Linked DNA regions of Homo sapiens: all the other regions are linked to region 7. The links are contacts of gene promoters, found by promoter capture Hi-C in blood cells and fetal thymus (Javierre and others, 2016). All regions are on one chromosome and are shown on one strand. Each heading gives the region's core, a stretch centred on a gene start or on the middle of the fragment in contact. The rest is flanking DNA. Distances are from core to core; before and after follow the strand shown. Region 1 holds the start of SNHG12 (small nucleolar RNA host gene 12). Region 2 has its middle 12 kb from the start of ATP5IF1. Region 3 overlaps PHACTR4 (phosphatase and actin regulator 4). Region 4 overlaps PHACTR4 (phosphatase and actin regulator 4). Region 5 holds the start of TAF12 (TATA-box binding protein associated factor 12). Region 6 holds the start of GMEB1 (glucocorticoid modulatory element binding protein 1). Region 7 holds the start of SRSF4 (serine and arginine rich splicing factor 4).

What was found. The method cuts DNA at HindIII sites, captures the fragments that hold promoters and counts their contacts. A CHiCAGO score of 5 or more calls a contact.
Region 1: the fragment with the promoter of SNHG12 here is called in contact with the fragment with the promoter of SRSF4 in region 7 in 12 of 17 cell types (neutrophils, total CD8 T cells, erythroblasts and 9 more); the score reaches 14.4 in neutrophils.
Region 2: a fragment that was not itself captured here is called in contact with the fragment with the promoter of SRSF4 in region 7 in 2 of 17 cell types (neutrophils and fetal thymus); the score reaches 5.4 in neutrophils.
Region 3: a fragment that was not itself captured here is called in contact with the fragment with the promoter of SRSF4 in region 7 in 2 of 17 cell types (activated CD4 T cells and total CD4 T cells); the score reaches 5.3 in activated CD4 T cells.
Region 4: a fragment that was not itself captured here is called in contact with the fragment with the promoter of SRSF4 in region 7 in 1 of 17 cell types (neutrophils); the score reaches 5.4 in neutrophils.
Region 5: a contact is called between the fragment with the promoter of TAF12 here and the fragment with the promoter of SRSF4 in region 7, in 12 of 17 cell types (non-activated CD4 T cells, neutrophils, naive CD4 T cells and 9 more). The highest score is 10.0, in non-activated CD4 T cells.
Region 6: the fragment with the promoter of GMEB1 here is called in contact with the fragment with the promoter of SRSF4 in region 7 in 1 of 17 cell types (neutrophils); the score reaches 5.0 in neutrophils.

Annotation. Positions count from the first base shown.
Region 1 is chr1:28,581,298-28,584,384 of GRCh38, reverse strand. SNHG12 (small nucleolar RNA host gene 12) reads left to right here and starts at 1,402. Exons shown (of 6, transcript NR_146382.1): 1 at 1,402-2,295. RefSeq lists enhancers at 2,235-3,020, 3,021-3,087. The HindIII fragment of the contact is 3,732 bases long and covers 659-3,087 here.
Region 2 is chr1:28,246,120-28,249,474 of GRCh38, reverse strand. No RefSeq gene overlaps it. Among named protein-coding and RNA genes, the nearest start is that of ATP5IF1, 12 kb to the right of the region's middle. RefSeq lists enhancers at 873-1,072, 2,314-2,483, 3,292-3,355. The HindIII fragment of the contact is 6,700 bases long and covers 1-3,355 here.
Region 3 is chr1:28,396,544-28,399,758 of GRCh38, reverse strand. All of the region lies in intron 1 of PHACTR4 (phosphatase and actin regulator 4), which reads right to left. Among named protein-coding and RNA genes, the nearest start is that of PHACTR4, 28 kb to the right of the region's middle. The HindIII fragment of the contact is 1,507 bases long and covers 773-2,279 here.
Region 4 is chr1:28,490,741-28,494,010 of GRCh38, reverse strand. It overlaps PHACTR4 (phosphatase and actin regulator 4), which reads right to left. Exons shown (of 14, transcript NM_001048183.3): 11 at 2,999-3,060; 12 at 2,224-2,361; 13 at 920-996. Among named protein-coding and RNA genes, the nearest start is that of SNHG3, 14 kb to the left of the region's middle. The HindIII fragment of the contact is 5,965 bases long and covers 1-3,270 here.
Region 5 is chr1:28,641,684-28,644,826 of GRCh38, reverse strand. TAF12 (TATA-box binding protein associated factor 12) reads left to right here and starts at 1,760. Exons shown (of 6, transcript NM_005644.4): 1 at 1,760-1,835. TAF12-DT (TAF12 divergent transcript) reads right to left here and starts at 1,571. Exons shown (of 2, transcript NR_146730.1): 1 at 1,064-1,571. RefSeq lists a silencer at 1-210. The HindIII fragment of the contact is 14,626 bases long and covers 1-2,606 here.
Region 6 is chr1:28,667,389-28,670,881 of GRCh38, reverse strand. GMEB1 (glucocorticoid modulatory element binding protein 1) reads right to left here and starts at 2,098. Exons shown (of 10, transcript NM_001319674.2): 1 at 2,043-2,098. RefSeq lists enhancers at 857-916, 967-1,016 and silencers at 1,547-1,836, 1,847-1,956, 1,987-2,126. The HindIII fragment of the contact is 26,935 bases long and covers 1-3,493 here.
Region 7 is chr1:29,180,038-29,183,504 of GRCh38, reverse strand. It overlaps SRSF4 (serine and arginine rich splicing factor 4), which reads left to right and starts at 1,605. Exons shown (of 6, transcript NM_005626.5): 1 at 1,605-1,859. The coding sequence starts at 1,753. It also overlaps a transcript of MECR not described here. RefSeq lists enhancers at 277-914, 1,257-1,486, 915-1,552 and silencers at 1,557-1,766, 1,817-2,006. The HindIII fragment of the contact is 7,304 bases long and covers 1-3,467 here.

The DNA.
Region 1 (3,087 bases), core at 153-2,652, 600 kb after region 7:
TCTGCCTCCCAGGTTCGAGCGATTCTTATGCCTTAGCCTCCCAAGTAGCTGGGACTGTAGATGAGTGTCACCATGCCTGGGTAATTTTTTTTTTTTGTATTTTTAGTAGAGATGGGGTTTTGTCATGTTGGCCAGGCTGGTCTCTAGTTCCTGATGTCAGGTAATCCACCTGCCTTGGCCTCCCGAATTGGTGGGAGCTACTGCGCCTGGGAGATATACATTTTTTCTTAATGGTTTTTTGACAGCTTTATTGAGGCATAATTGACACAGAATAAACTGCACAAGCCTGGGCGAAAAAGCGAGACTTCATCTCCAAAAAAAAAAAAAAAAGTTTAATAATTTTACTTTTTTTCTTTTTTTTTTGAGACGGAGTCTCGCTCTTGTCGCCCAGGCTGGAGTGTAATGGCTCCATCTTAGCTCACTTCAACCTCCGCTTCCCAGGTTCAAACGATTCTCCTGCCTCAGCCTCCCAAGTAGCTGGGATTACAGGCGCCTGCCACCACGCCCAGCTAATTTTTGTATTTTTAGTAGAAACGGGTTTTCACCATGTTGGCTAGGCTGGACTTGAAATCCTGACCTCAGGTTATCTGCCCCCTCGGACTCCCAAAGTGCTGGAATTACAGGTGGGAGCCACCGCGCCCAGCATAATTATTAAGCTTTTAAAGCGTAAACAAACGGCCGGGCGCGGTGGCTCGTGCCTGTAATCCCAGCACTTTGGGAGGCCGAGGCGGGTGGATCACGAGGTCAGGAAATCGAGACCATCCTGCCCAACATGGGGAAACCCTGTCTCTACTAAAAATACAAAAAATTAGCCGGGCGTGGTGGCGGGCGCCTGTAATCCCAGCTACTTGGGAGGCTGAGGCAGGAGAATGGCGTGAACCCGGGAGCGGGAGCTTGCAGTGAGCTGAGATGGCGCCACTGCACTCCAGCCTGGGCGACAGAGCAGCTCCGTCTCAAGAAAAAAAAAAAAAAGCATAAACTACAAAAAAAAAAATTGACTCTTAGACTTCATAAAAATTAAAAAACTTTTAGCAGGCTGGCTGGCGTGTGGAGACCAGACTGTCGGGAGCAACAGCAGGATCTGGGAGATAAGAGACTATTGCTATCATCTGGGTCAACGATTAGGGTAACATCAGTGGAAGGGGTAAGAAACAGTCAGATTATTGATACATTTTAAAGGTAGAGCACACAGGAGTTGCTGATGGCTTGGACATGTGATGTTAGAGAAAGAGAGGAGTCCAGGACCACAGGCATGCGCCCCCACGACCTGCTAAAGTAGTACTTACTTTTTATTTTATTTTATTTTTTTGAGACAGAGTCTCGTTCTGTTGCCCAGGCTAGAGTGCAGTGACGCGATCTCGGCTCTCTGCAAGCTCCGCCTCCCGGGTTCACGCCATTCTCCTGCCTCAGCCTCCCGGGTAGCTGGGACTACAGGCGCCCGCGACCACGCCCGGCTAATTTTTTTTTGTATTTTTTTTTAGTAGAGACCGGGTTTCGCCGTGTTAGCCAGGATGGTCTCGATCTCCTGACCTCGTGATCCACCCGCCTTGGCCTCCCAAAGTGCTGGGATTACAGGCGTGAGTAACCGCACCCGGCAGTAGTACCTACTTTTTAAAGTGTAAGCAAGGAAAGTTGGCCCGCACCTGTAGTCCCATCTACCTGGGAGGCTGAGGTGGAAGAATTGCTTGAGCCCAGTTGGTCGAGGCTGCAATGAGCCTTGATCACGCCACTGCACTCCAGCCTGGGCAACAGAACAAGACCCTGTCTCAAACAAAAAAGTGTATGTAAGAATAAAAATTAATAGATTAGGCACAGGATGGGTGTTTAATTCTCGGCAATCACCACTAAGTTTTCATACTGAGGCTTATTCATTCCATGGGCAAAACATTGCGCTATGTGTGGTGCCTGGGGTGGGCTCCAAATTCCAGTCCTCTCCTCGCTTGCGATAGCTGTGTGATCCATTCCTAAGTTTCCTTATTTGTCCACAGAGCGTACACAGGGTTTTTATGAAAACTAGATCAGATAATCAGACACAGTTAAAATAGCACGCGCTCAGTAAAATTACATATTAGTGGAAGAGACAAGCCTTGAATAAATCGCCTTTCGGGGAGTATGACCCCCTCCCCGAAACCCACTCAGGCGCTGCTCGCTCGCACGCCCACTGAGCTCGGAGCGGAGCCCGAGCCCTTTCCCAGCACACAGGGTTCATTTCCAGACTGAAAGACATCCCAGAGACAACTCCAGAGGCCAAGGCGGGTCGGCTTCCTGCGTGGGCCCAGCGCCGGGCACTGAAAGGTGAAGGCGCTTCTTCCGCTCGGAGGAAAGCCTCTGGCGGTTCTCGCTTCGCGGGCTCGGGATGGACACGCGCGTAGGGCTGGGGAGGTGACGCGCGGACAACGCCGGGGCGAGCAAACTACAACTCCCAGGCAGCTGTGCGCCACGCGGGCGGCCTACTGTCGGGTGTGGCCGCGAGGGGCGGCCTATATAAGCTCTTGCTCGCGGCTTCAGCGCCCTTTCTCCCCGCCGCATTCCCGGTGTCGACTTACTAGCTGCAAGCCTCTGCCTGCCTTCCTGCGCGCCGTTCCCCGCTAGTCGCTGCTGCTGGCGCGCACTCGCCGGGTTTTTCCTCCCACGGCCTCGAGATGGTGGTGAATGTGGCACGGAGGAGCCGGGCCTTCCAACCCGGTGGGCCCGAGCTCCGAAAGGCCCCCTCGGCAGTGAGAGGGGCGGGAGCCCGCGGGGGCCGCGCCCTTCTCTCGCTTCGGACTGCGCAACGCTGCGCTCTGGGCTGACAGGTGAGTGTTGCAGGCAGGCGGCCGGGTTTACGGAAGGGGTGGGGGTTTGGGAACCGGTCTCCTGGGGGATGCGGGGATGAATCCCTGGGCCTGAAGTGTCTTAATTCAGGGGGAGGCCGCATGCTGGTGTCAGGATGGCCTCCAGTTGAATCTGTGACATTTACCAGCTAGGTGATTTTGGGACTGGTGACTACGCGCGAGACCTCTGGAGGTCGCCCTGGTAGACACGGTTTTCAGAAGGACGGGTTTTAGGCATTCAGACCCTTGCGTGCATCCCAGCTTGTTGCTTTCA
Region 2 (3,355 bases), core at 264-2,763, 930 kb after region 7:
ATCCATTTCAGATTATGACCCTAATATGATTGTCATCTGTTCTGTATTCATTCTTCCTGAATTAGTTTTCTAGTCTCAAATTCTGAGATCACTTTACTATAATGACCTTGTAATGGGACCATTCGGGGGGCTGTGATTTATCACCCCAGATGTCATTTTCTGAGCTCTTCTTATTGTTTCCCCCCTCCCCACCCACTAATCTCAGATACAATTCCTGCCCAGGGGGAACTTTCAGGAAAGAAGTTCCACTCCAATTGGTTTGATAAAGCCAAAGAAGACCCATCCTTCAAGGCTTAGTCACACATTAATTCAATTACTCATGAAGCAGGCATTGTGCTAGGTGGGGAGGGAGGTCCTTCCTGCACAGAGCTGACAGGTGCCGAGCTGTCAAGCTACACAACCAAAATTGTCCTTTGGAGTTGTGCATTAGCAGGCAGTACAACCACAGACTCCCAGAAACAAAGCCAACTATCTCCTAAGAGCACTTCCCAGGAGTCAGGCAATTCGGGTGCCAGCTTTTAGCCAAGTAACCCAAACTGAATTTTTTTTTTCCAGCTCTTTGAATCTGTTTCCCTATCTGTAAAACAAAGAAATAGAAATTAGCTCTAAACTTGCAGAGTCATTATGGAGAGAACTGGTGCCATAAAGAACTGGCAGTGTATATAATTCGTCTTCTCGATTGCATACTGAGGACAGAAATCTTCAGGTTTGGAAACGTTTACCCTTCTTAAATGCAAAAACTAACGCACTGGGTGCTTTTGGGCAAATTGCTTGGTTGATTTAGTTTAGTTTTGTCGGCTGAGTGGTTCCTCAACGCCCCCTGCAGGCCAGATCCTGCTATAGCTAAGTCAGAATGGAGTAGGAAAGGGCTGGCCCAAACCGTTTTGAGTTTATAGGATTGTTAGGGTCCATGTCACCGCCTGAAGGTCTTGAAAAGAGGCCAGGCAACAGCTAAGTAAAGGTCTGTGGTTGCTGAAGATTCCCCCTGCTGCCAGCAAGGACCAGAGTCCTAAAATACTTCACAGCCCGAATGCACTTTCCATTGTTTTGGCTTACTACCTCTCTTACAAGGCAGGAAGCCTCAGGTCGAGAGAGAGGAATTTGCCCAAGGTTCCCTAGGAAGTTGGCCACAGAGTGGAGACTAGAATCTCGAGGTCCAGGGCTACCTACACCTTAATAGGCTGCCCCAGGAGAGAAGCCTCACATTTTCAGAAAGAACAACTTCTCCCTTTCCTCTGGTCTCCCTTCCTTCCCCAACCCTCCACTCCTAGAGGCTCTATACATCCTATTCTCAGAGAACCACCCTGAGGCTTGTCCCTGGAGCAACGCCTCTGGCCTCCCACCATCCTGTCCTACCTTTCCCTATCCCCAGCGGAATTCTGTACCCCGACCCCCTCCCTAAAAAGGCCACACTTGGAATCAGGATATCGGAGTTGAAGGTTCCAGTTCCAACCCTTTCTTTGTGAACCTCAGCAAAACACTTCACTTCTCTGAACCCGTTTCCTGTTTTTTTGTTTTTGTTTTTCTTTTATTACGTTTTTGTTTTTCTGAGACAGGTCTCGTTCTGTTGCCCAGGCTGGAGTGCAGTGGCGCGATCATAGCTCACTTAAGTTTGGAGCTCCTGGGTCCTCTCACCTCAGCCTTCCGAGTAGCTGGGTCTACAGGACTGCATGTTAAATGTTAAATGGGGCAATAGTTTACCTCCACCGTTCTATTGTGAGAATGAGAGCTTATGCATGGAAACCCCTTAACAAGGCTTGATGCAGATGAAGTGCTCAATAAACTGTAGATTATCTATATTTTTACTGTTATTTTGAAGGATCTGGCTCAGTGACTGGCTGATAGTGGTGGGTGTTCAAGAAAGGTGCCTACAACCATTAATATTAAAAGTTTGGCGCACATAGCCTGGCATTTAGTTGCAGTTTAATAAACTGTGGCTAGTATTGTTTTTTTGACCCCAGGACGCCCAGTGCGGTTTCAGCGTTAACAACTCCTTAGCGAAAATTGCAGAACAGACTTTTCGCTCAGCAACAGGCTCCTCTTACGTAAACCGCACCGGCCAATGAGCAGGAAGATGGGCGGGGTTTCTTGGCAGCCAATAGTAGCCCGCAGCGGCGCGCAGGATAGGCCCAGGCTGGTTTCCAGGCTGCGTACGGAAACGAATCCCCGGGGCTCTTTGACTGGGGGCGAGTCTTCGAAGTCGCCAGGCTCTGCCTATCAACCGGGTCCTGATTGGTGCAGGCTGTGGCGGTCCGCCCCTGACTCCGTCTAGCCCCGCTCCGCGAGAAGAGGCTGAACTGCCCCATCTGCTTCTAATTTCTTTCTTTCTTTCTTTCTTTCTTTTTTTCCCCTCTTTTCCTTTTCTTCTTTTAAATATACGTTTGGAAATTTGCCGGGCGTGGTGGCGGGCGCCTGTAATCCCAGCTACTCGGGAGGCTGAGGCAGGAGAATCGCTTGAATCCGGGAGACGGAGGTTGCAGTGAGCCGAGAACGCGCCACTACACTCCAGCCTGGACGACGAGAGTGATACTCCGTCTCAGTCAATCAATCAATCAATCAATCGTTTGATTTTCGTTTTATGCTTTTACTTCCAAATTTATATTTATTGCAAAAAATGTGGAATATAACAAAGTGTAAAGGTGAAACTGAAATAACCCGAAATTATATTTCCCCCTCTGTGGTTTTTTTTTTTCCGTCTCTGTGTTTTTCAATGTTTTTCAGGCCTTCTGTCTTGAGCTCGTATTACTGCTGTTCACTGATGTATTGTAAAAGCGTAAAACCGGACGTGACCCAAATGTCTATCAAAGGAGACTGATGAGAGAAATAAACGGATTTGTTCACACAACGGCTTCTACAGCAAAGAAACAGAAGGTAGCTCCAAGTGCTCTGAAATGGAAAGGTATGCAGGATTTCCTGTTAGGTTAAAACAGAACGAAGCAAAAACCGAGGTTGCGCAATGATACATATAGAACAGTCTCATAGTTGTATACATAGTTACACAGAGGAAACAAAGATCTGGAAAGATGTGTAGTTTGCACCTGTTACCATTGGTTAGCTCTGGGGTGGACGGAGAAGGGAGAAGTTTTAAGATTCTTTATATAATACACTTATTTAATATCTATCTATGTGCTAAGTTGTATTACATTTGTTGTTTTTTAAAGAGATCCTTTTAAACAGAGAAGGGAGAACTCCCTCAAATCCCAATTGCACTACAAAGAGAAACCAACATGTTGGTTATTTTTATAGCATATAAGTTTATATACCGTATTAATAATGTATAGCTATATAGCCTGCTTTTTCCACTTAGCACATTTCATAATTTTTGTAATATTAAATATTCCTTAAATATAATTGT
Region 3 (3,215 bases), core at 277-2,776, 780 kb after region 7:
CTGATGGTATACTATCTGTAATTTATCTATAGATATGCTTACCTAAGTTCTTATTGTGTCTCTCCCAATCTAGAAAGTATCATTAGATACTTTATCTGTTCTGTTCACTACTATATCCCTGCATTTAGAAGGTGCATACACTAGGTACTAAGAAAATACTTACTGAATAAATAAATGAACACTAGCACCAAACAGTACTACATAGTCCGAGACCAACAAGAAATTAATAGAAATGGAATTAGGTAAGTATCCATGACGTATGTGAGCCATGAGAAAACCAAATAACTTCAAAGGAACAAGTTTCCTGGCAATGTGAATACCGAAAAGTGGTAAAAGAAATAAATCATGCCATATCACTTAACAGTAGAGACATACTAAACTCAAAAAATATTTATACACAGCAGAAATTTCATCAACACAAAATTATTCATCATATATATATTTTTTGAGACAGAGTCTTGCTCTGTCGCCCAGGCTGGAGTGCAGTGGCATGACCTTGGCTTACTATAACCCCCGCCTCCTGGATTCAAGCGATTCTCCTGCCTCAGCCTCCCCAGTAGCTGAGATTACCGGCATGTGCCACCACACCCAGCTAATTTTTGTATTTTTAGTAGAGATGGGGTTCCACCATGTTGGCCAGGCTGGTCTTGAACTCCTGACCTCTGGTGATCCACCCGCCTCGGCCTCCCAAAGTGCAGAGATTACAGATGTGAGCCACCGCACCCAGCCTTTCCTACCTCTTTACACAGCTAATTCCTTTAAATCTCAAGCTTGGCTAACGTGTCTTCCGGAATACCTTCTGTATTAGGGTTCTTCTCAGAAACAGAACCAGTAGGATGGATACAAAACATACATATTTGAGATCTGATAAAACTATTGCCTCAAAAGTGCTTCTTTTTGAATATCAGTATTTAATTAATTAAATTTTTTTTTCTTTTTTGAGACAGAGTCTTGCTCTGTCACCCAGGCTGGAGTGCAGTAGCGCGATCTTGGCTCACTGCAACCTCCAGCTCCCAGGTTCAAGCAATTCTCCTGCCTCAGCCTCCCAAGTAGCTGGGATTATAGGCATGTGCCCCCACGCCCGGCTAATTTTTGTGTTTTTGGTAGAGACAGGGTTTCACCATGTTCACCAGGCTGGTCTCGAACTCTTGACCTCAAGCGATCCGCCTGCCTTAGCCTCCCAAAGTGCTGGGATTACAGGCATGAGCCACCGTGCTCGGCCTATTTTATTTTTTGAGACAGGGTCTGTCTACTCTGTTGCCCAGGCTGGAGTGCGGTGGCATGATCTCGGCTCACTGCAACCCTCCGCCTGTGGGGTTCAAGTGATTCTCCTGCCTCAGCCTCCTGAGTAGCTGGGACTACAGACACATGCCACTATGCCTGGCTAATTTTTTGTATTTTTAGTAGAGACGGGGTTTCACCATGCTGGCCAGGCTGGTCTCAAACTCCTGACCTCATGATCTGCCCACCTTGGCCTCCCAAAGTTCCAGGATTACAGGCGTGAGCCACCCCGGCCAGCCACCCAACAGATATTTAATGCTGCTGTTGCTAATGGCAGCCACAGCCTTGGTGGTGTTAACATAGGTATATGAGAATTCTAAAATATATTATCCTCTTCCCACCTTTAACAGAACTCTTCGAATGTATCAATTCCTCAACTTGGTAACTGTGGCTAGGTCAGTTCAGTGAAAGAAACACAGAAGCATGTACTGCAGGCTAGAAACTTGATATTAAAAGCAAAAATTAGGCCAGCGGCGGTGGCTCATGCCTGTAATCCCAGCACTTTGGGAGGCCGAGGCGGGCGGATCATGAGGTCAGGAGATCAAGACCATCCTGGCCCAAATGGTGAAAACCCGTTTCTACTAAAAATACAAAAACAACAACAACAACAAAAAATTAGCAGGGCATGGTGGCACGCACCTGTAGTCCCAGCTACTCGGGAGGCTGAGGCAGAGGAATCGCTTGAACCCAGGAGGTGGAGGTTGCAGTGAGCCGAGACTGCGCCACTGCACGCCAGCCTGGCGACAGAGAAAGACTCAAAAAAAAAAAAAAAAGCAAAAATTATTTTTTTCTCAATTACCCTAATAATAGCTTCATTCCTTGTTTCATTTTGAATGTCCAAGATAGCCTCAGATTGTACATACAAATATAAATTAATCTACTCAGATGGAAACCGTCAAGAATGAAATTATTTTCTGCCTTTTCTATTCCTTTCTGGGTAATTGCTGTAACGCTAGACCCGTGTTATTCAAAATAACCTTCTCCCTCCTGAGAAAGCTTAACAAGCCAGGCAAAAATCAAAAGAACAAAAGTTTACTGGTTAAGAGAACTTGCATTATCTTTCATTGGACAAATTAGCACAAGTTAGTTTCAAATATCAATCATATACAAACTGGTTAATGATTTTGGTTACAAAAGATAATATTGCAGAATAATTTAACCTTCTTGTCTTTGGGGATTCAAGTGGGATTAATAATACTCATCTTTAATGAGAATCTCATGAAATAGCATTTATTATAAAATAAAACAGGAAGAAATGGGCTGTGCCTGGCATATAGTTGGCAGTCTTAAAGCTCACCTCACTCCTCCATTTCAGTTCTAAAACAAAAAAAGCAGTTTTTAATTCTATCATGATTCAAAGCCTGATCAAAATACACAATGTCTAAAAACACCATCAAGATAATGAAACCTAAATTTACATTGGCAGACTGAACAACTAAAGTGTTATTTCCACATTTTCTTGGACTTGATTTAAAAGCATATCACGGCCAGGCACGGTGGCTCACACCTGCAATCCCAGCACTTTAGGAGGCCGAGGCGGGTAGATCACCCGATGTCAGGAATTTGAGACCAGCCTGGCCAACACGGTGAAACCCCGTCTCTACTAAAAATACAAAAAAAAAAAAAAAAAAAGAAAGAAAGAAAGAAAGAAATTAGCCGGGCGTGGTGGTGTAAGCCTGTAATCTCAGCTACTCAGGAGGCTGAGGCAGGAGAATCGCTTGAACCCAGGAGGCAGAGGTTGCAGTGAGCCGAGATTGCGCCATTGCACTCCAGCCTGGGAGACAAGAACAAAACACCGTCTCAAAAAAAAAAAAAGCACATCACTAGAGAAAATTAAGAAAGTAATAAGGTATCTATTCTTCTAGAGTGACCTTCAGATGCTACTACATTAATATAAGGAGTAAATACTGTAATCTACACGCATCTTTATTATC
Region 4 (3,270 bases), core at 336-2,835, 690 kb after region 7:
AGCTGATTCTTTGGATATGGGTGGGTCCTTAATCACAACCGTAATTCCAAATCAAAACACTTGATTTGTTGGCTTGTTGGCTTTGTTGGATTTCTTGGCTTGTTTCATGAAGACAGCTAATTAAAATGTTGTTTATACATTAAGTTGGTAAGATCAACTGTGCTAGACAGAACTGAACCAGAGAGGGCAAGATCTTGTCTAACTTAGCACAGTCTCCTCATTTATAACCTGAGAGAGTAAGGTACAAGGAAGAGAGCACCTCACATCCTTGAAGTCATTGATTTCTTTCTCCGAATCCTGGTTCTGCAATTTACTAGCAAGTCAACCAAGTTACTTAACCATTGTGAGCCTCCATTTCCTCAGTGATAAAATGGGGATGTTAACACATCTTGCATGTTTATTACAAGGATTAAATAATATACATGAAATGCCATAATCAGAATACACATTTACTTATTTTTTTTTTTTTTTTGAGATGGAGTTTTGCTCTTGTCACCCAGGCTGGAGTGCAATGGCATGATCTCAGCTCACTACAACCTCCATCTCCCGGGTTCAAGTGATTCTCCCGCATCATCCTCCCTAATAGTTGGGATTACAGGCGCCTGCTACCAGGCCCAGCTAATTTTTGTATTTTTAGTAGAGATGGGGTTTTGCCATGTTGGTCCGGCTGGTCTCAAACTCCTGACCTCAGGTGATCCACCTGCCTCAGCCTCCCAAAGTACTGGGATTACAGGCGTGAGCCACCGCACCTGGCCTAGGCATTTACTATTGCTTCTTACTTTTCATCCCTTTGAATGCAGTCTTGCAATCAACACTGAGTGTTTTCCTTTTTACTGATGTCATTAGAGCCCTTCATATCTGAACAATTTTTTGGAAAACTCTACCTAGCACATATATGATTGGGTCTTTTGGGTCTTACCGTGTAAAATGTTTGCTCTCTTCATGAACCTCCATCTCGGAGCTTTTAAATTCATTTAATTCTTTTCTTATGGCAGCCTGTGGAGTAGAGACAAAAATGTTTCAGCTTCTTCTGGCTGCTTTGCACAGCAGTGTAACTTGTCATTTTTCTGTACTGTGTTTAACTTTGTAAGTCACTGCAACCCCTCACAGGCAACCCAGACACCAGGTCAACACAATGATACCCATCTGTCTCATAATAAACCTAAAATTTTTAGTTTAATCAAAATACTTGAAAATCTTGAAAGATATATTGTAGCTTTTATAGTTTTGTTTTTATTTTTGTTTTTCCCTGAGATGGAATCTCGCTCCGTTGCTGGGGCTGGAGTGCAGTGGTGCAATCTCAGCTCACTGCAACCTTCAGCTCCTGGGTTCAGGCGATTCTCCTGCCTCAGCCTCCCGAATAGCTGGGATTACAGGTGCGCACTACCACGTCCGGCTATTTTGTATTTTTAGTACAGACAGGGTTTCACCATGTTGGCCAGGCTGGTCTTGAACTCCTGACCTCAAGAGATCTACCTGCTTCGGCCTCCCAAAGTGCTGGGATTACAGGTGTGAGCCACTGCACCTGGCTAGTTTTGTTTTTTTTTTAATTTTAATTTTTTATTTTTATTTTTGAGGTGGAGTCTCACTCTGCTGCCCAGGCTGGAGTGCATTGGCATGATCTTGGCTCACTGCAACCTCCACCTCCTAGGTTCAAGCAATTCTCCTGCTTCAGCCTTCCAAGTAGCTGGTATTACAGGTGCATGCCATCACACCCAGCTAATTTTTGTATTTTTAGTAGAGATGGGGTTTCACCATGTTGGCCAGGCTGGTCTCGAACTCCTTACCTCGAGTGATCCCTCTGCATTGGCCTCCCAAAGTGCTAGGATTACAGGCATAAGCCACCACGCCTGGCCAGCTTTTATAGTTTTTCACAGCATTATAAAAATGAAATATTGGTAATTACTAAAATATATAGCCCAAACTCCCTCTAACCAAACAACCACTGTTTGAAATGTATTTATTCCTTCCAGTATTTTTACTCTGTGAGATAGCAGGGATTTTCTTTCTTTCAGTATTGGTGGTGGAGTTACCAAAACATACTGAGTTAGTATAACATTTTGACTTGTTCAACTTGGCATTTTGTATCTTGATTTGAAATTTAATATTATATTAAAACTAGAAGTTTTGTTTATGGTTCTCCCTTCTAGTTAGTATCTTGGATCCTCCAAATAAAGAGAAAAAGAGAAAGAGAAAAAAAGCAAGAGAGTGCTTTCCAGGTACCTTGTCAGCAGGGGTCAGTTTGGTCCAAGGTTTGTCGGCTCGCCGGTCATAATCTTGAGCATCTGTTACCTCTACATATTCATTAAACCTCAGAATCTTCCTGGCAAGGAGTTCAGCGACAGTTGGCCTTTGACTGAGCTGAAGGAAACGGAGCCTCTTAGTTCACCAAGCCAATAATTAGGCATCAATCATGCATTCAAATTGCCTCTAACCCAGTGCTTCAATCTTCATTGGAATCACCTGGGGGAGCTTTAGACACTATTGATCCCTGGAGGTCCCACCCCCAGTGATTATGGTTATCAGGTGGTTTTTTGTTTTGTTTTTTTTTTTGAGACAGGGTCTTGCCCTGTCACCCAGGCTGGAGTGCAGTGGCACAATCACAGCTCACTGCAGCCTCAACCTCCCAAGCTCAAATGATCCTCCTACCTCAGCCTCCCAAGTAGCTGATATTACAGGCGCATACCACCATGCCTGGCTAATATATATTTTTTTTTGTAGAGGTGGGGTCTTGCCATGTTGCCCAGGCTGCAAATTCATTTTTTTCTTTTTCTTTTCTTTCTTCTTCTTTTTTTTTTTTTTAATGTAGACACAAGGTTTCACTGTTTTCCCCAGGCTGGTCTTGAACTCCTGGGCTCAAGCAATCCTCCTGCCATGGCCTTCCAAAGTGCTGGGATTACAGGCGCAAGCCACTGTGCCCAGCTGTGAATTCATTTCCAATCAAATAGGCCATCCAAATATAACACATATAGTTAACTGAACACACAGGCAGTAGTACCTTTCTAGTGAGCCGACGTTTAATTTCTCGTTTTTCTGCCTGACGATCAGCTTCATTTTTAGCTACAGTTGACAATCAGAAGGAAGGAATATTACTCACAAATGACAATTTGCATATCAAACGTTTTAGTAATTACATTACAGATATTTCTTTTTTGTTTTTTTTTTTTGAGACGGAGTTTTGCTCTTGTTGCCCAGGCTGGAGTGCAATGGTACAATCTTGGCTCACTGCAACCTCGGCCTCCCGAGTTCAAGCGATTCTCCTGTCTCAGC
Region 5 (3,143 bases), core at 511-3,010, 540 kb after region 7:
TAAAAGGTCCAGACTATAACAAACCCCTGCCTACCTCTCCAAACTCATTGTCTTTCCCGGTTACCAAAGCTCCAGCCACCTTGGCCATCTTGGTCCTTGAGTAAGTGTTTTCCTTACTGAAGACCATGGCTCAGGCCATCAGCCAGCTAGATAAGTCTGGCTTATTCCAGTATTCTCTTCTATCACCCTTTTGTGCAGTTGCTAATGGTCTGTTTCCCACTCTAGGTTGCAAACTTTCTAAGGACAGAGATCATCCGTCTTAGCCACCAGTTATGTACTCAGCACATAGCAAAAGGCTTGTCACACAATGAGACTCAAACACTTGTCAAATGAACGTATATACATTCAACCTGGGTCTTAAAAAAGATGTATAGGCATTCAACAACAAAAAGTGGTATGCCGGACCCTAAAAAGAATGGAGAGCAGTGGCAAGGAAATAAGGCTAGGAATACAGCTTAGAGCCCAATGTTCATGAGGACTTGAATCTGAGAATTTGGATTGGGTGGCAGTGTAGAGGGTGGACTGGGAACGTGGTAGGATGAGGATTAGGAAGATATAAAGACAGGGCAGGATGCCGCACCAATCTGGGCACCTCTTCCTAATTTCTATGTGGCTCACTCTGGCCTGTCACAGCTCTTTATACAATTTTTGGTGTGTTTGTGGGTTCTTCTCCATCTTACTGTGAACCTTACAGATGCTGGAATTGGGTCTTACTTGCATGCCTAACATTCCAGCATACAGTAAAAAATAACAGCTGTTCTCTTTTTTTTTTTTTTGAGACAGAGTCTCGCTCTGTCGCCCAGGCTGGAGTGCAGTGGCGCGATCTCGGCTCACTGCAACCTCCGCCCCTCCAGGTTTAAGCAGTTCTCTGCGTCAGCCTCCGGAGTAGCTGCGATTACAGGCGCATGCCACCACGCCCGGCTAATTTTTTGTATTTTTAGTAGAGACGGGGTTTCACCATCTTGGCCAGACTGGTCTTGAACTCTTGACCTCGTGATCCACCCTCCTCGGCCTCCCAAAGTGCTGGGATTACAGGCGTGAGCCACATAACAGCAGTTCTCACCAAGCATCTGACAGCCGAAAAACTGAAAGCATTAGAGAATGCTACAGGACAGGCTTTGGCTTAGTAGTGAGTTCTGAGTTCAAGCTGAGGCTCTGCACTTATTAGCTAGAACTTTGCTTAATCTCTCACAGGTCTCCTCTAAATGATTAAATGGCGTAACGGAGGTAAGCGGATTAGCACAATTCCCGGCAAACAGTAAGCACTCAATTGTTACTACTGAATTGCCAGTTCACAGGCACAACCAACCGATCTCTCTCATCTCCTGGTTCCTCTGTTGCCAACTTCCTCGTTGAGGTCCAACAGGATACCTGTGGGGTAATGTGTCCCAGATGATATCCCAGTCCTGACACCAAGACAAAGGCACCAACCAAAAATGGCGACCTCAAAGCCATCCGAGGGCGTCAATTACCCGTCATGCTACCGATAGATAAATAAGCAGCGTCGGGAAGAAAAGCTAGTGAAGGATTCTTAACGCCGGGTTGGAATACGCAGAGCTCGCTCATGCTGCCACTCAACCACAAGCAGTTAAAAGCGCAAGCTGCAGGGTGTACCTACACACAGCTCAATATCGCCACCACGTGTCGGAGGGCAGTCTGCGCCTGCGCAAGCGAGGCGCGCGCCCGCCGGCCGGAAGAGCCGCGCGTTTCCGGGTTGGAGGCGGGGAGCGGTGCCGGAAGTAGTCGGGGAGGGCCGCGCAGTCGGACCGGCTGCTGAGACGAACGCTTCACTGGGGCAGTCTCTGCATATCATGGGGAGATAGACGCTGCTGCCTGTGAGTCTTGGGCCCTGGCAGTTGAGGAACAAGAGCGGGAGGAGGGAGTCAGGACCCAGACCTACAGTGGGTCAGTGTTCGAAGGACCAGGTTGTGGACGAGACGGGGCTGTGAGGATTCAGGCTCTTGGGAAGGGACTGACTGAGAGGATCAGGCTCGGAGAAGACGCGGCTGTGGGGACCCGGGCTCTAAGACGGGACTTAGGGAACGGGGACGGATGCGAGTTCTCCGGCATCTGAGGGAAAGTGGTCTGAGAGGAGCAGGATTATGAGGACCCGCACTCCTACGAGGAAAGGGTCAGAAAGGAACGGGGCGTGAAGACACAGGCTCCGGAGAGGTAAAAGTGGAGCGGTGAGGACTTGGGCTCCTAAGAGGCAGAAGCGGGACAGTGAAGACCCGGGCTCCTAAGGATTCAGAAACGGGGCAGCGAAGACTTAGGTTCCTGAGGGGCAGAAGCAGACAGAGAAAACTTGAGTTTGGAAGGGAACAGAAGCGGGCAGTGAAGACTGGGGCTTCTTTGGGGACGGGATCCGGGCTTTGAGACTCCGAGTTCCTGAGTCTCGGAACAGGGCTGTGAGTACCCAAGCTCCTAAAAGCCTTGGATCTAAGGGACCATGGATATGAGATCAGCCTACAAAGTAAAGGGAAAGGGTTTGGAAAAGATTTAGTGATCCATTTTTTCACAGTATTCCCTGAACCCAGAGAGATAAAGGACGTATTCAGGGGAAGACAACTTCTCCTTCGCACTGCCTACTTGGCTCTTGGCAAGCTTTTCTTGTGTCAGATACTCAATCTAGGAAGCCCATATGCAAACATCTTCATTTTCTGCTTCATTCTTGGGAATCAGATGTGAAGTTGAAAACAGTTGGAACTCAGTTATGTACTTGATAAGTGCTTTAAATCCCATTCCACTCAACCCTGAATGAGCACAGATCTCTGCATCTCAAATAAAAGAATGTCAGTGATGGAAGAGTCCCAAAAGATCATCTTTTAAAAACTCCTATTTTACATTTAAGAAGGCTAAGGTTCAAAGAGGCTTAGGATTACAGTGAGGCAATGGTTAGTTAGATCATAATTTTAATACAGTACCCTTCTGTGCGTAGCAAATGAGATGCTTGGTTAATGTTCCTTAAATGCTTCTAGAATCTTTGCTTTATCTTCAAACTCAGGAGGGAATTTTTTTTTTTTTTTTTTTTTTGAGACAGGTTCTCTCTCTGTCGCCCAGTCTGAAGTGCAGCGGCTCAGTCTTGGCCCCGTGCACCTCCAACCTCCTAGGCTCAAGCAGTCTTCCCACCTATACCTCCTGAG
Region 6 (3,493 bases), core at 849-3,348, 510 kb after region 7:
GAAGTAAATAGGAACCCAAAAAAAATCATTTAAGTAAGATATTAAATATACATCCTTGATATAAGGCTCTCAAATTAGGAGACGGTGCAACCATTGAATAAGTTTCCCCCGCCGGGCGCAGTGGCTCACGCCTGTAATACCAGCACTTTAGGAGGCCAACGCGGGCGAATCACAAGGTCAGGAGATCGAAACCATCCTGGCTAACATGGTGAAACCCCGTCTCTACTAAAAACACAAAAAAATTAGCCTGGTTGGGCCAGGCGCAGTGATTCACGCCTGTAATCCCAGTACTCTGGGAGGCTGAGGATGTGGGATCACCTGAGGTTGGGAGTTCGAGACCAGCCTGGCCAACATGGTGAAACCCCGTCTCTATTAAAAATACAAAAATTAGCTGGGTGTGGTGGCGGGCGCCTGTAGCCCCAGCTACTCGGGAGGGTGAGGCAGGAGAATCGCTTGAACCCAAGAGGCGGAGGTTGCAGTGAGCTGAGATCGCGCCATTGCACTCCAGTCTGGGCAACAGGAGTGAAACTCCGTCTCAAACAACAACAACAACAACAACAAAATTGGCTGGTGTGGTGGCACGCGCCTGTAGTCCCAGCTACTCGGGAGGCTGAGGCAGGAGAATCGTTTGAACCCAGGAGGCGGAAGTTGCAGTGAGCCACCACTCCAGCCTGGGCGATAGAGTGAGACTCCGTCTCAAAAAACAAATAAATAAATAAATAAATAAAAAGGGTCCCCAAATGCACTTTGGTAACTATTAGAAGAGGCAAGGAGGAAGAAGATAATCCCTCAAGACTAGAATTATGTCTGACAGTCTCTTTTCCTAAAACCCGTCTTGATTGGCCTAAACAGACACCAATCAAGGCCCCATCTGTGTCTACTAGGAAGTGGTTTTGAGATTTCTCTCATCTTGAGAGAATCCAGGGCTGCGCCTGCTCTGCTGTCTAGGTCAAGACTTCACCCTCTTGTCTTGTGGATCATCCTCCAAAGACCCTCGGGTTGAGATTTTGCCTTCATCTCTCCTGCCCCTCAATTAGATAACACCTGGCCAATTCCTGTCATTTCAGAAAGCGGGAACACCTTAAGCATCTTTCCTCAACGATCTCTGCTTCTCTCAAAAAGATAGGTTTCTCCATCCCCTGACCGAGCGGGTTACTTTGTTCTCCACCTAGACATCAAGAGGCACCTAGACACCTTCCATCCCCTCAGGTTTGGACGCTGCTCTTTCGTACTTCAGGAGGCTCTAGGAGTCTTCCTACCACGCGCTCATCTGTGGGGAGACCTGGGCCTGCTCACTTCCCCTTAGAGCTCCTCTTCCTTCCCTGCCTTTGGAAAAAACCTGCCCTTTTTTCCCTTGTTCTGAGTGGCCGAGGCCTCTACCGCGCCCCTCGGGATAAGCTGGACTCTGCTCTCCTCAGAAGAACCCACTCTGTACTCTTGCTCTCCCGCCAAGGCTCCGAGAGGGTCTCCTCCCAGGCGGGCATCCGGGCTTCCAGCACCTATCGTCCCCCTCCCACTGGGCAGGACCCAGGCCTCCAACCAGCTCCTCATCCAAGGGCCCGGTGCTCCCCGGACCCCGCCTTTGGGGATACCCCAGGCTCCCCGGACCCCTCGATGGGGTCCTGGGCGCCTGGCCCTCTCAGTCCGGAGTCACTCCGGCCCCTCCTGGCCCCTGAGCCGAGTACTTCCGGGCCCCTCGGTCCGGGGGCGCCGGGGCCCCCCCAGTGGTGGACTCGCCGGTTCCCGCCGCCCTGGTCTGGGGCCCGAGCCCCGGCGGCGCGGCCGGCTGCGCTGGGGGCGGCCCGGCGGCTCGGGCGGACCCAGCGGCAGCGTCCCCCCACCCCCCCGCGGCGCCGCGACGTCCGCTCGCTCCCCGGCGGCGGCGGCGGCACGCACAGGGCGTGGGGAGGCGCCCGCGGAGGCAGCAGCCCCCCGCCCCCTGCGCGCCCGCCCGCCCTCGCCGGCCGCCGCGCGGCCCCCGCGCCCGCCCCCCCGCCCCCACCCCACCCCGCGCCCGCGCGCCCACCCCTCCCCCTCCTCACCGTCTCCGTCGGGCGGGCGGGCGGCGAGCGGCCAGGGCGGGCAGGCGACGGAGCATGCGCAGAGGCCGCCACGGCAGCTACCGCCACCGCCGCCGCCAGGCCGGGCTTCAACACTTCCGGCCGCCGCCGCCGGAGAGCTGGCGCCTTAAAGGGGACGCGTCCCTATTGCCGGTCCCACCGAGGATTAACCTTAGCCAAGGGATTTGGGCCTTACCTAAGCAGAATTCTTTCGCCCTTGAAAATCAGTGTTGGAAAGGTCGCTAGAGACCCCAGTAACTCTCCTTCCCGCACTCATAGATGAGGAAAATAGGCCCTAAATGAAAGAATCACCTCAACCACAATTGAGGGCCAAGCTAGCTTTCTCGACTCCTCTGGAGGACTCTACTCCATTTACCTCCCCAAATCCTGTTTTATGAAGTTTACATCTTATCGGACCCTTCAAGTTACAATCCAGCTATCAGTTTGCAATCAGAAGATCTGCATAGATCAGTAACTGGTCACGAGTCCTTGAGCAAGCCCTAAGCATTGTCTGACCCGTGCCTGTTTGCCAAGTTTTTCCTGCTTGTGAGTTTCTGGGTTGAAGTCTTGACTCCCCTGCTGGAAGTGTAAACGACTCTGGAGGAATTTCTTGACAGCTCTAAACCTGTTTCCGATAAGACATAATGTGAGTGCTAAAGAAGGTGATACCTGCATGAAAAGTGCTTCAGAGAGTTCCTGGGGTCAGTAATAGTAATTAACAAGTATTAAGACCTTTATTTTTTATTTATTTATTTATTTTTTTAGACAGAGTCTTGCTCTTTGGCCAGGCTGGAGTGCAGTGGCGCGATCTCGGCTCACTGCAGCTTCAGCCTCCTGGGTTCAAGTGATTCTCCGGCCTCAGCCTCCCGAAGAGCTGGCACTAGAGGCGCGCGACACCACGCCCGGCAATTTTTTTTTTTTTTTGTATTTTAGTAAAGACAGGATTTCACCATGTTGGCCAGGATGGTCTCAATATCTGACCTCATGATCCACCCGCCTGGGCCTCCCAAAGAGCTGGGATTACAGGCGTGAGCCACCGCGCCCGGCCGTATTAAGACCTTTCTATGGCCAGGTGTGGTGGCTTACGCCTGTAATCCCACACTTTGGGAAGCCGAGGCGGACAGATCACTTGAGACCAGGAGTTCGAGACCAGCCTGGGCAACATGGTGAAACCCCGTCTCTACTAAAAATACAGAAATTAGCCGGGCGTCGTGGCACGCGCCTCTAGTCCCAGCTACTCAGAAGGCTGAGCCAGGAGAATCACTTGAACCCGGGAGGCGGAGGTTGCAGTGAGCCGAGATCAGGCCATTGCACTCCAGCCTGGGCAACAGAGTGAGACTCTATCTCAAAAAACAAACAAACAAAAAGACCTTTCTATGGCCTATGGCTTGGTGAAGATGCTTCTGTCTTGTATAATCCTCACAGCAACCCTA
Region 7 (3,467 bases), core at 356-2,855:
GAGGATATGAGGAAACAGCCACTTAAGGGGAATTGAGCAATAACTTATCAAAACTCTGACCCAAATATCCTATTTCTAGGAATAGATGATATATATAGAGAGAGAGAGAAAGAGAGAGAGAGAAATGCAAAGTTACTGCAGCAGTGTAATAACAAAAGGTTGGAACTTATTTCAATGTCCTTCACCAGGGCACTGGCTAAATAAATTACTGTGTATAAAATGGTATGAACCATAAAACTAGTCCTTTTATACTCTTAAGGAATGATTTTCAAAATATATTTTGTGTAGAACCATATGTATAGTATCCTACTATTTGTTTTATAAGGGTAAATTAACCTCCTAAAGGACATTTCAGAAACTGCCTCTGGGAAGAGAAACTAAGTGGCTGGTGGACAGCGAAGACTTTTCACTGTGTATCATTTGAACCTTGAGTTATCCTTTCAAAATATTCAAAAAACAAAAACAAGCAAAGAAACAAAACCCTTTATGGTTCTAGGTACATGGCGTTAGTGAGAAGGGAACCAATATTTATTGAGCTCTTACCATGTTTCAGACACTGTTCCAAGTACTTTCACATACACTACCCCATTTAGTGACCTGTGTAATCCTTGAGATGGGTATACATTATTCTAATTTTACAGGTTAGAAAATAGACTGGATAGGCCAGGCGCAGTGGCTCACGCCTGTAATCCCAGCACTTTGGGAGGCCAAGGCGGGCGGATCACCTGAGGTCTGGAGTTTGAGACCTGCCTGGCCAATATGGTGAAACTTCCTCTCTCCTAAAAATACAAAAATTAGCCGGGCGTGGGGGCGGGCGCCTGTAGTCCCAGCTACTCTGGAGGCTGAGGCAGGAGAATCGCTTGAACCCGGGAGGCGGAGGTTGCAGTGAGCTGAGGTCGCGCCACTGCACTCCAGCCTGGGCGACCGAGCGAAACTCGTCTCAAAAAAAAAAAAATAGGTTGGATTGTGGTCAAGTAATTTACTCGGCGTCATGCCTAGTCTAGCTCCAAAGCTCCAGCCTTCTCCGCTTCTCACACTGCTTCTATTTAAGCAGTGTCCTCTTAAAAATAATACTGGTCTCATTTATTGGGCACTTGATATGACAAAACTACTAAGTGCTTTATGTACGTATTCTCATATAATTCTCAAGACAACTCTGGAAGGTAGGAACTACTCTCCCCCTTTTACAGAAAAGATAAAGGAGGGTCCGAGACATCGCGCGTAACAAGCCCAAGGTCACGGGTACACAATCGTTTGGAAGCTAGGTTTGATTCCAAAGCTCCAGCTCCGAAATCCAAACCACACCCGGTTCAAAGGACAAAAGCACAAACGCTCGCTCGCTGGGCTCTAGGAGGTGCGGACACTTCCGGGGGAGGGGCGAAGCCAGCTGGCTGCGGAAGGCGGTGCAGGAACCCCTTTGGCGAGCTCGCGCGAGGACGTGCCGCAGCGCCGCCTGTCGATCACCTTGCCCCGCCGCACGTCGGCGCGCCCCCGGGCAAGCTCCTCCCCCAGTCCTGGCCGAGCGGGAAGCGAACGCGCGCTCTCTCCGGTTACCTTCCGCCTCGGGGAAGGGCGGGGGAAGTGGAAGCGCGCGCTCGCGAGCTGCGTGCTCGCGTACGTCGCCGGGGTTCGGCTGCGTCCGTCCCGCCGCCCGCCCGTTGCCGCCGCCGCCGCTGCCGCCGTGCTCTCGCTTTGCCCGCCGCCGCCTAAGGGGGGCTGGGGCCGGGGCCAGCCATCACTGCCGTTGCCGGGATGCCGCGGGTGTACATCGGCCGCCTGAGCTACCAGGCCCGGGAGCGCGATGTGGAGCGCTTCTTTAAGGGCTACGGGAAGATCCTGGAGGTGGATCTGAAGAACGGGTGAGGAGGGCGAAAGAGGGTCCGGCCGGGCGGGGACAGACCCCATAGGTGGTGGGGAGGCCGCGGGGACGGGAGAGGGACGCCTGGTCCGCGCGGAGCGGCTACCGGCCTGGCCAGGCTCCGCCATAGTGGCGGCGCCTCGGGGGCGCGGGTAGGCCCCGGTTCCCACTGCGCCTGCGCGGGTGGGGGTGGTGGAGGCATAATGGGAGCTGTGCTGAGGCCCTGAGTGGGACGGGGAGAAGGAAAGCCCGAGTGGGGCTGGTGCTCCGGGCAGGGGGGCACAGCTCCAGGGCGCCCGGGAGACCTGGGTTTTCCCTTCCTAGGCCCGGAACTGGGGCCCTATTCGTTTCTGGGTAGACACCAACCTTTCCCGCTCTGAGGACTACTGGAAATAAACAGGATTTCCTGCTCCCTTTCACCTCTTGCCCGGTCTCATGGATCAGACGGTCACAGCGCCGTCTTCCCCGAGGACTGGAGCCTTGGAGGGAGGCCCTTTTTAGCCGTGTGCCACGCTTTTTTGGGCGGGAGACTCCAGTTTGAGTAGTCTAGTGACAGTTTCGAAAGTATCGTCTTGCCGTGCTGAAAGCCTTCACCGTTCCCTCTGCAAGAGTAAATTAAAGTCTTAACTTCTTATCTTTAAGACTCCGTGCAGAGTTTCCACGCTGTGGTTTCCGTTTTCCAACTTACCGAAAAATTGCTTGGCCGTTGTAGAATTTGTTAGGAGAATAGTGGCCACCCTGGCTAGTATCTGCGTCTGGTTAACGCAGACGGAGACGAAATTGTTAACTTACTGCCTCCCCCAGAGTATGATCTATTACTTGTATTCTTAATCTACTTCGGCAAAAATAGTGCCAGCATGAGCTACAGGTTTTAGGGAAAACTGTTGAGGAATCAGGCCTGGAGAAAATACTCAACGGGGAAAACTGGGAACCAGATGTTAGGTAGGGCTTGGAAGGCATGGATATAAAATTAAAAGGACTGGGGTGACATTTTAGGGCACTAAACCTTGGGTGTTAGAGAACTCTTGGCTTAAAAAAGAAACTCTACTTTGCAACAGTTGTAATATAGCTACCGTTTACTCCCCAGGGTTATACTAGTAACTGACACCTGAAACATTTTGAAAGTTACCTAAGTATGTTTCACGTATGAGAAAACTGGTAGCTACCGTATTCTCAAATGATGATTTGGGTTTAAAAAGCCATTTCAAATTAATTATTAGAATCGTTTTCTTTCTGAGGACGTCTTTAGTAAAGTACTGATTTCTTTTACAGTAAAAGGCTTTAAAAACTACTCCTTTTCTACAGTAAAACGTTCAGTTCTTAAGGATATATTGAAGTGGCGGGTAGACGTTATTGTATACATACCATATATGTGAAAGTTGAAACTCCAGTTTTTTTCAGAGCCCAGCTAAATTGACAGCATAACTAACTTTTGTGGACAAAGTGTGGATTTTGAAGCCAGCCAGGCCTAAGTCAAATCCTGGTTCCACCACTTACTACGTATGGGCAAGTTACTTCTCTGAACCTGGTTGTTCATTCATGTGGAAAAGGAAGATTAGAGATAATAAATGTAAAGCATTTGGCTTAGGCAGTAAGTGGCAGCTATAAT